Linked DNA regions of Homo sapiens: all the other regions are linked to region 1. The links are contacts of gene promoters, found by promoter capture Hi-C in blood cells and fetal thymus (Javierre and others, 2016). All regions are on one chromosome and are shown on one strand. Each heading gives the region's core, a stretch centred on a gene start or on the middle of the fragment in contact. The rest is flanking DNA. Distances are from core to core; before and after follow the strand shown.

Region 1 (2,602 bases), core at 61-2,560:
AGACTGGTCTGGAACTCCTGACCCCAGGTGATCTGCCCGCCTCGGCCTCCCAAAGTGCTGGGATTGCAGGCGTGAGCCACTGCGCCCAATCAGCCTATAATTCTTTTTTATTTTTGAGACGGAGTCTCACTCTTGTCCCCCAAGCTGCAGTGCAATGGTGTGATCTCAGCTCACTGCAACCTCTGCCTCCCAGGTTCAAGCAGTTTTCCTGCCTCAGCCTCTTAAGTAGCTGGGATCACAGGCATGCACCACCACACTCGGCTAATTTTGTATTTTTAGTAGAGACGGGGTTCACCATGTTGGCCAGGCTGGTCTCAAACTCCTGACCTCAGGTGATTCACCCGCCTCGGTCTCCCAAAGTGTTGGGATTACAGACTTCAGCCACCGTGCCCGGCCCATTCGGCATATAATTTTTGAGTGCCTACTACGTGCCAGGCAAAGTGAGATGGGGCATACGTGCTGTGGTGGCCTTCCAAGTTCACGGGAGGGGAAATGGGTGACCAAGCACTGTATGGGAGCGGTCTCCCTGGGGCCTGTGCAAGACTGGAAGAGGTTCCTGACCCAGCCTGGGCCTCAGAAAACATTACTCTAACGAAGTGACTTCTGAAGGGAATCACGAAAGACTACGGGGAGTTTGCCAGGATAAGAGGAACAAGGGCAAAAGCTCCGAGGCAAAAAGAGTCTACAGCAGGCTGGAAGCCCTCTGGGGGCAGTGTAGGCTGCTGCTGAGGCCCGAGTGTGCCTGCAGCTTTAACGCCTTCCACATTTTCCCTGTATACAAACACTAGGCTACCCGGGGGCCCGCTTTAAGGTGGACCCAACTGCGGAAGGCTGAACTCAGATGGCAGCAGACAGCGGGAGTACCAGATGCTGACTCCTCCAGGAGGTGAGCAACCTAGAGGCTTCCCAGGCAGGGCACGGCTGGGGACGCCAGGCCCAGGACAGAAGTTTGTGGGGTCCACCTTAAGCGAGAGGCCGAGCCTGGCCAGGCCCCGCCCCGCGTGGGCGTGCTCGACCAAAGGAGGCTCTGGCGGGCGACGGAAGGTGGGTCCAAAGAGCTAGCTTGGAGCCCTAGCCTTCCGAGACTCCACTACTAGGCCAAGCCACGGCCCTAGCTCCGCCCCACATGGAGAGGCGTCCATGGGCGGAGCGAGCCGCTCCATACCCTAGGATCCACTATCCGCTCTAGCGGCCAGAAGCGCGGCCACCTTCCCCTGCTGAAGCGTTCACTTTAATTTTGGCCGGTAGGCAGTCCCAGATCTCGCGGGATCCGACGCCCCGATTATCGCGAGAGGAGCAATCGGCTCCTATTGGCTGTGAGGGTTGAATGTAAGATGGCGCCCAGGGAGCTGTGAGGAGAAAACCCTGTCGGTCTTGGAGCGACGACGGCAGAACCAGGGTCCCTGGCGGTGCGGCGGGGCCGGCGGGTGCAGCGGAGGCGGCGGCGGCGGCGGCAGTGACGTCGCCGGGTGAGGGCTCCAGTGCGGGTGGGGATGCGGCGAAGCTGTAGGCCTGAGACGGGGGGCCCACCCCACACAACGGCGGGCGGGGGCGGGCGGGCCACTACCGCTGGGCCCTGGAGAGTTCGGGGCGGCTCCGGAGCCGAAAACGTTCCTGGGCTAGCGCACCCCGCCCTGTGGATGGGGGAGGGGTGGCCCGGGGATTTGGGTGGGCGCGGCGCGAGATGGCGCGCCGGTGCGGGCGCGCGGCTGAGCCTGTTTTTACGCGCGCGCGCTGTGCGGCTCTCGGTGCGCGTGGCCGCCGACGTGCGCGTTCCCGGCCCGGATATCTCTGCTCTAGGAGCTGTGGCCCGTGGGCAACCGCGGCTTTCTGGAGCGCGCGCCCGTGACGACCCCCAGTTTTGGGGCGCGCGCTCTGATATCGGGTGGCGGTGCTGCCTCGAGAGCGCGCAGGAGGCTTCTGCTGAGCAGAGGGCCGGCCGCGGCTCGTTGCGCTGGGAAGGTTGAGGATTGGGTCCTTTCTGGTCTGGTGACGTTCCCGGGCATCCGTGGCCTCGGCCTGGAGAGAAACCAACCAGCTTTGCTGTCTGGCTTGCGGTTCCGCTCCTCTGTGAGGGGGGCGAGATTGCCCGTTCTCCTCGAAGAATGCCGTTACTTGAGGCCCAAGTACGGTGCGGGTGCTTGGGTAGGGTGTTTCTCTGCTTCGGAAACCAAGCCCTCTTGGTTTGAGAGGGCAGTGAGCCCCTTCGGATTTCCTCACCTTGTACTGGGCTTTCTGCCGGGCAGGGAAGGTTAATATTAGAAGGCCCTTGAGTGGTACCTGCTTATCTTTCATTAGAAACTAATACGTCCATAAGCGTAATTCATACACGTCACCTCTGTGCGCTCCGGAAGGGAATTCGCTTATGTGGCCCATGTGAACTCCGAGCTCTAAAATGCCAGTTTAAATCCTTAAACGCAGCTTTTCTTTTGCGTAAGTGGGAGGGGCTTACTTTATTATATTAAAGGCCCACCTTTGCCTCAGCCAAAAAGTTGGCCTTAAACAAAATGGAACAACCTGAGAATCAGTGCTTTACCTTTTTTGAAATTGCAGAAATCCCAGCAGAAATTACTAAAATCTGATAGTGTATCACTGTAAAAGT
Region 2 (2,602 bases), core at 1-2,500, 410 kb after region 1:
GCGCGGGCGCGCAGTGGTGAGACGGGCTACGTGCCGCCAGCCTACCTGCGCCGCCTGCAGGTGAGTGCGCCCCTTCCCGCCCGGCCTCCGCGCCCCTGGGGCAGGACCCCTTCACAGCCCCGCGGAACCGACCCAGGGACCCCACCCTCTCCGGGACCCGAGGCCAGGACCTCTATCAGACAGGGAGTTTGAGAACCTGACCCTGAGACCCCCGGACCCACGGGGACTGAGACCCCAAGTGTCAGCATCACCCACAAAAGACCAGGCCCTTGACAGACCAACTCCCGATCGACCAAAAGCCTAACTCTGGGACTGAGACTCCTCAGGACCCCAGACCCTTCAGTATCGAGTCCGCCATCTGAATGGCGACCCTGAGCCCCACCGAATCCTGGCCAATTATTCAAATCCCTGAGACCCCAGATCCTTAATATGCCCCTTCTCTGGATTCCTAGGACCCCACAACCAACCTCCCTCCCTCCCTCCCTCCCTCCCTCCCTCCCTCCCTTCCTTCTTCCCCCAACCCCGCGCCTTGCCCCCCGTTGGAGCCACCACTGAGACCTGGACCACCTTGGACACCACCTGTTTCCCTAGCCATTCTCCAGGTCCTCAACCCCCCAACTTGGACCCTAGAGCCATAGACACCTCCATCCCCTATGTAACACCCAAGCTTTGGTACTTCAGTGTCTTTCACTAGCCTGTGTTCAGCCACCCTCTAAGCTCTTCTTAAGTCTCTACCAACCTTATTTGAACCAAGGACCCATGCCCCTGCTGACACTGTCTGCTCCACTCCCCAACCCTGACTTCTCAAACTTTCTTGCTTTGAAAATGGGTTCCATCCCTACTTGTTCCCAGCCTGGAGTGGGGACTGCTCACATTGTGATGAAGTGAGTTCTTATAGCTTCTCCTGGTCTGATCGTGGCCCCATTTCCTTCCAGTGGAAGCTGCAGTCCCAGTTCCTGTTTCCCTAAGAGTAGCCCTGCTGCGGGGGTTGGGGTGCGTATCTCCAGCTGGTCTATTCTGACCACAGGGGGAAGAAGGGCCCAGAGCTGCCGGGCCTGTGCCAGACACCCCCGCCCCGTCCTAGTCCTTATCCTTTAGGAAACATCCTGTCCCAGCCCAGTTCAGGACAGAAATAACGGGATAAATTTGGAAGTGTCATCTGGTCTTACCAGGAAGGATGGGCCCTGGGGGCCTAGGGGCTTCCTCATAGACCCTTGGCGTGATCCCATCTAGGAGTGCCAGGGGTGGGAGTGGGGGCCGTGGACACCATGGCTGCTGTGTGTCAGACCCAACCTTTTTGGGAATGGGGTCTCATTGAAGGCCTCTGAGGAAAAGTCCTGTCTCTTCCCCTACTGGGCATAGGTCAAGGGCCTGTGAGTCCCCTGCCGCCAGCCAGGACCAGTGGGGCAAGGTGTTTGGGGAGGGCAGAGAGGCTACCATCTTCTCTGTCACTGTCTGTTTCTTTCTGCGTGTCTCTTTCTGTCTGGATTGCTGCGACTCTGTGCCTCTCTGCCTGTGTCGTTCCGACTCCACATGTGTGTGTTTTTGTTTCTTCCTCCGGCTCCCCCCACACTCTGGCTTTGGCTCTGTTTCTTTCTGCGTTGTTTCCCTCTGTCTGCCTCTCCGTTCCTCTCTGAGCTCCTCTCTTTCCCCATTCCTTTCTTTCTCTCTCTCTCTGTGTGTGTGTGTGTGTGTGTGTGTGTGTGTGTGTGTGTGTCTTCATGTCTTTCTATCCCCCTGTCTCCTCTCCCTGCACTCTGGCACACCTCATACCACCTGGAGGGCTTTGCTGACCTCTGTGCCCACCTGTCTGTGCCCATCAGGGAAGCTTCTCAAACCCATGGTGGAATGAGTTCATCTCAGCTCCGGGACTCCTATGTAGCCTGATGGACTACGTGTGCCAGGGCCAGGGGAGGGCTGGGGGTAGCTGGTTTGATAGCTGCTACCCTACACTCCCCATGTCAGATAGGCAGAGTAGACTGGATCCCTGGAATGTTGGGGATGGCAGTACAGAGCCTGGAACAGGGGCTAGGCCCCTCTCTCATGTTTATCCTTTGCCACAAACACAGAACTGCTTCCCAGGGTGGGTTTGGAAGCTTACTGAGACATCTTGTGGGGATGAGGGCCAGCAGCAGGGTTGGGGAGGGCAAGTCCCTTTGACCCATTCTCAGCTCCCAGGGCTTACAGAGGGCCCTTACAAGGACAGGGCTGTTCTGGGGTATGACCTTGGTTTTGTGAAAGATCAGCAAGATGCAGAGTGATGTATTAAGGATTCCAGATACTGGAGACTTCCTGTTTGGCATCTCAACCTGGGCTCTGAGCCAAGACCAGGGATAGACGAGGTATGCGCTCCTGGCTGCAAGCTGGGAGCCCCTGGGCTATGTTTTTGCTTTAGACCTCTGATTTTCAGAAACATCTTAGCCAAGAGCCTTGCTGTGGGGTAAAATCCTGATCAGGACCTAATATGTAATGTGGCAGCATGGGGGTCACCCTGTGCCTCAGCTCCCTGAGTGATACAGTTTGAGAACCCCATTCCATATTCTGGTTCAACTTTTTGTGCTATGTCTAGCATTCCAGGCTTTCGCTATATTGGTTCTCTGCC
Region 3 (2,602 bases), core at 103-2,602, 380 kb before region 1:
ACTCCCTACTGAAATCTGATTTCTCCAAAATACAGGACACAGGCCATGAGCTCTTCTTCCTTAGTTCACAGCAAAAAAAACCCACAAAAGTTCAACTAAACTTCTCCATACTCAAACTATGGATTTTTATGCCTCCAAAATGTAGTACGGTTGAATTCTTTTTTAGAACAGGAACATTCCAAAATAATGTCTCTGAACTTAACTAAGCATAGAACCTGATAAAACTGCAATACCCCATCTACACCAGACTTTGCAAAACACCTGAAAGCACATCCAGCTCTTTATCTGGAATTATGTCCTATAAACACCACCTTCCCTTCACGGAGTCTGGCTTCTATGCCAGGAGTCACTTCTACTCGCTTATTTAGGGAAGCAGCAGGCTAGAATCTTAAGTTAGACTCTGCGCTATGAAGGTGCTGTCCCAGGCTCTTGCCTCAACCAGTCAAAACTTCATCGTCACCATTAAAACTAATTCTGAAGCAACTCGATTTACAAAAATAAGAACTTTTCAAGTTATAGAGATTAAAGGATGCATTTTAAGTTACCAGTTGAGTTTGTAGGAAACTAACTTAGAATTTATGGCAAAAAGATTCCAAGCCGAGACGACATTTTCTGTGGAGACACTATCCAAATACACTCGCAGGTGAACCAGGTCTGCCAAATACAAAGTGAAAAGGTAGTAAGTAAACAAGCTTCCAAAGGAGCTCAAGTAAGGATGACGGAACCCACCAAGGCTCTGAGCAGCTCTGACAGAGCAGTGGCGGCAGCGGTGCCCTTCCCTGCCTCTAGCGGGGCTCGACTCCCCACAGTCGGAATCCGGCCCAACTGGGCCACAACCCCTATTGGAAGCCAGGGAGGCGGCCCGCAGGCGGCTCACGACCGCGGCCAAGGCGCAGGCTCCACGTTCCCGGGAGCGCGGGCCGAGCTAAGGCCTGGCCCATCGCCGCGGCGCGCGGCCCGGGCCTTGCAGCCGAACGCTCCGAGCCTTTGCCTGCGGGACCCAGAGCAAAGGGGCGGCTCCGCCCGGGCGGCACCGCCTCCTCACCCACAAGGACGTCCGCGGCCGTGTCCCCGCCCCGGGCCGAACAGCGAGCAGCAGCAGGTGTTCCGCGGAAGGCTCAGCCGGCAGCAGGGATGGGGGCCCAAGCAGCCAGGCACAGCGGATAGGGCGGGCGGTGCACTCACCCAGCGCCGGCGGGAGGACCGCGGCAGGTGTTCGCTCCTCCTGGCCCCAGGACGCCGCCACCGCCGCTCCCCGGGGATTCGGCGCGAAGCTGCCGCCGCCGCCACCGCCAAGCCTAAGAGGCGCGAGCGCCGCGCCGCAGCCTTCGCGCGAGCACGTACCGGGCGGTGAGAGGGCGCTGAGCGCAAGGGCGGGGCGCGCGGCCGGAGCCTAGCAACCGCCTGACACGCGAGTGTTGCAGCCAATCCAGCGGCCAGCTCCGCGCGGCGCCGACTGGCTGTCCGCGCGCCGCCGGCTTCTGCCTGCGTCGGCCGCTCCGCAGCGCGCCGCACCCGCGCGCAAGCCCCGCCCCGGCCAGCACCTCTCTGCTCATTGGCTAGCCACTCCCCCGCCCTAAAAGTCACGCCCCATTATGGAAGCCTCGCCCCCACGGCCAGGGAAGTCCGTCCCGGGACACACCCCGGCGGTCGGTCCCGGTCACTCGGAGCCTTCAGAACCAGTAGTGTGGGGGAGGGGCTCCCCGCCCAACTTCAGGCCTTTGGGCCTCTAAGACTAATCAAGGGACAGTCAGGACTGCGAACTGGCCCAGCAACTGGCCACCCGTCGACTGCGTTCAGCCCTCCTTATTTCCTTCGAATGCAAATCAAGGGGTATTTCTAAGCCATGAGAACAATCAGGAAGCGTTCTCTCAATTGCAAAGGATGAAAGCCTTGCTGCCCGGCCCTTACACGGATGGGAGACTGAGGCCAGGGACAGGAGGAGCGGGAAGCTAGCTCATCTCCTAGAGCCTCGCCCACAGCAGGCTGGGGAGTCGGAAAGCGCCTCAGGCCTAACCCTCGTCCCCTCCCCCTGCCTGGAACACTGGAATCCGACGCCTGCTCTCCTGCCCAAAATAGCTCTAACTCGCAGGCGCTGGTCACTCACTCCTAGTGGCCTGCATTCTTTTGGTGGGGGAAGAAATAAGAGAGGGGGGTTGCTGCCTGGAACATTCAAGGGGAGGGTCCTAAGGTAGCTCTAGCTCTCCCCAGGACTTAACCTGCAGCCCCCCACCCCAAAAGCCCCAGACTTCACAGTTACTGAAACTGACAGTTACCGGATGGGTCTGGGAATGAGACCCGTGGTGGGCTCTGCTTCTCATCCCCACACCATGCGCAGGATGGGTCCATTCCCTCCTTGGCCTGTGGCCAGGCTGGAATTCCAGGCCTGCACTCTTGACAGCAAGCACATTCTGAACACAGAACTGGCTGCCACCAGCCATGGTTTCCTCCCTGGATCCCGGAGAGCTCTGGGGCTCCCTGGCTTTCCCTCCCTCCTCAGGAGCGTCTGGGAGATGCAAGTTGCAGAGATAAGAAAGGAATGCCCCATCTCCCAAAAACATACCTTTTTGCAATTATCTATACTTCAGTGTCTCGGCTCCAA

The links. The method cuts DNA at HindIII sites, captures the fragments that hold promoters and counts their contacts. A CHiCAGO score of 5 or more calls a contact.
Region 2: a fragment that was not itself captured here is called in contact with the fragment with the promoter of QRICH1 in region 1 in 3 of 17 cell types (naive CD8 T cells, naive CD4 T cells and total CD8 T cells); the score reaches 5.3 in naive CD8 T cells.
Region 3: the fragment with the promoter of DAG1 here is called in contact with the fragment with the promoter of QRICH1 in region 1 in 6 of 17 cell types (M1 macrophages, endothelial precursors, M0 macrophages and 3 more); the score reaches 7.7 in M1 macrophages.

What each region holds. Positions count from the first base shown.
Region 1 is chr3:49,092,779-49,095,380 of GRCh38, reverse strand. QRICH1 (glutamine rich 1) reads left to right here and starts at 1,310. Exons shown (of 10, transcript NM_198880.3): 1 at 1,310-1,469. RefSeq lists enhancers at 736-1,075, 1,186-1,305, 1,674-2,186 and a silencer at 1,426-1,675. The HindIII fragment of the contact is 6,132 bases long and covers 1-2,602 here.
Region 2 is chr3:48,683,095-48,685,696 of GRCh38, reverse strand. It overlaps NCKIPSD (NCK interacting protein with SH3 domain), which reads left to right. Exons shown (of 13, transcript NM_016453.4): 1 at 1-60. Among named protein-coding and RNA genes, the nearest start is that of NCKIPSD, 1.5 kb to the left of the region's middle. RefSeq lists silencers at 1-161, 1-274. The HindIII fragment of the contact is 1,161 bases long and covers 670-1,830 here.
Region 3 is chr3:49,469,017-49,471,618 of GRCh38, reverse strand. It overlaps DAG1 (dystroglycan 1), which reads right to left and starts at 1,352. Exons shown (of 3, transcript NM_004393.6): 1 at 1,186-1,352. RefSeq lists a silencer at 934-1,673. The HindIII fragment of the contact is 13,712 bases long and covers 695-2,602 here.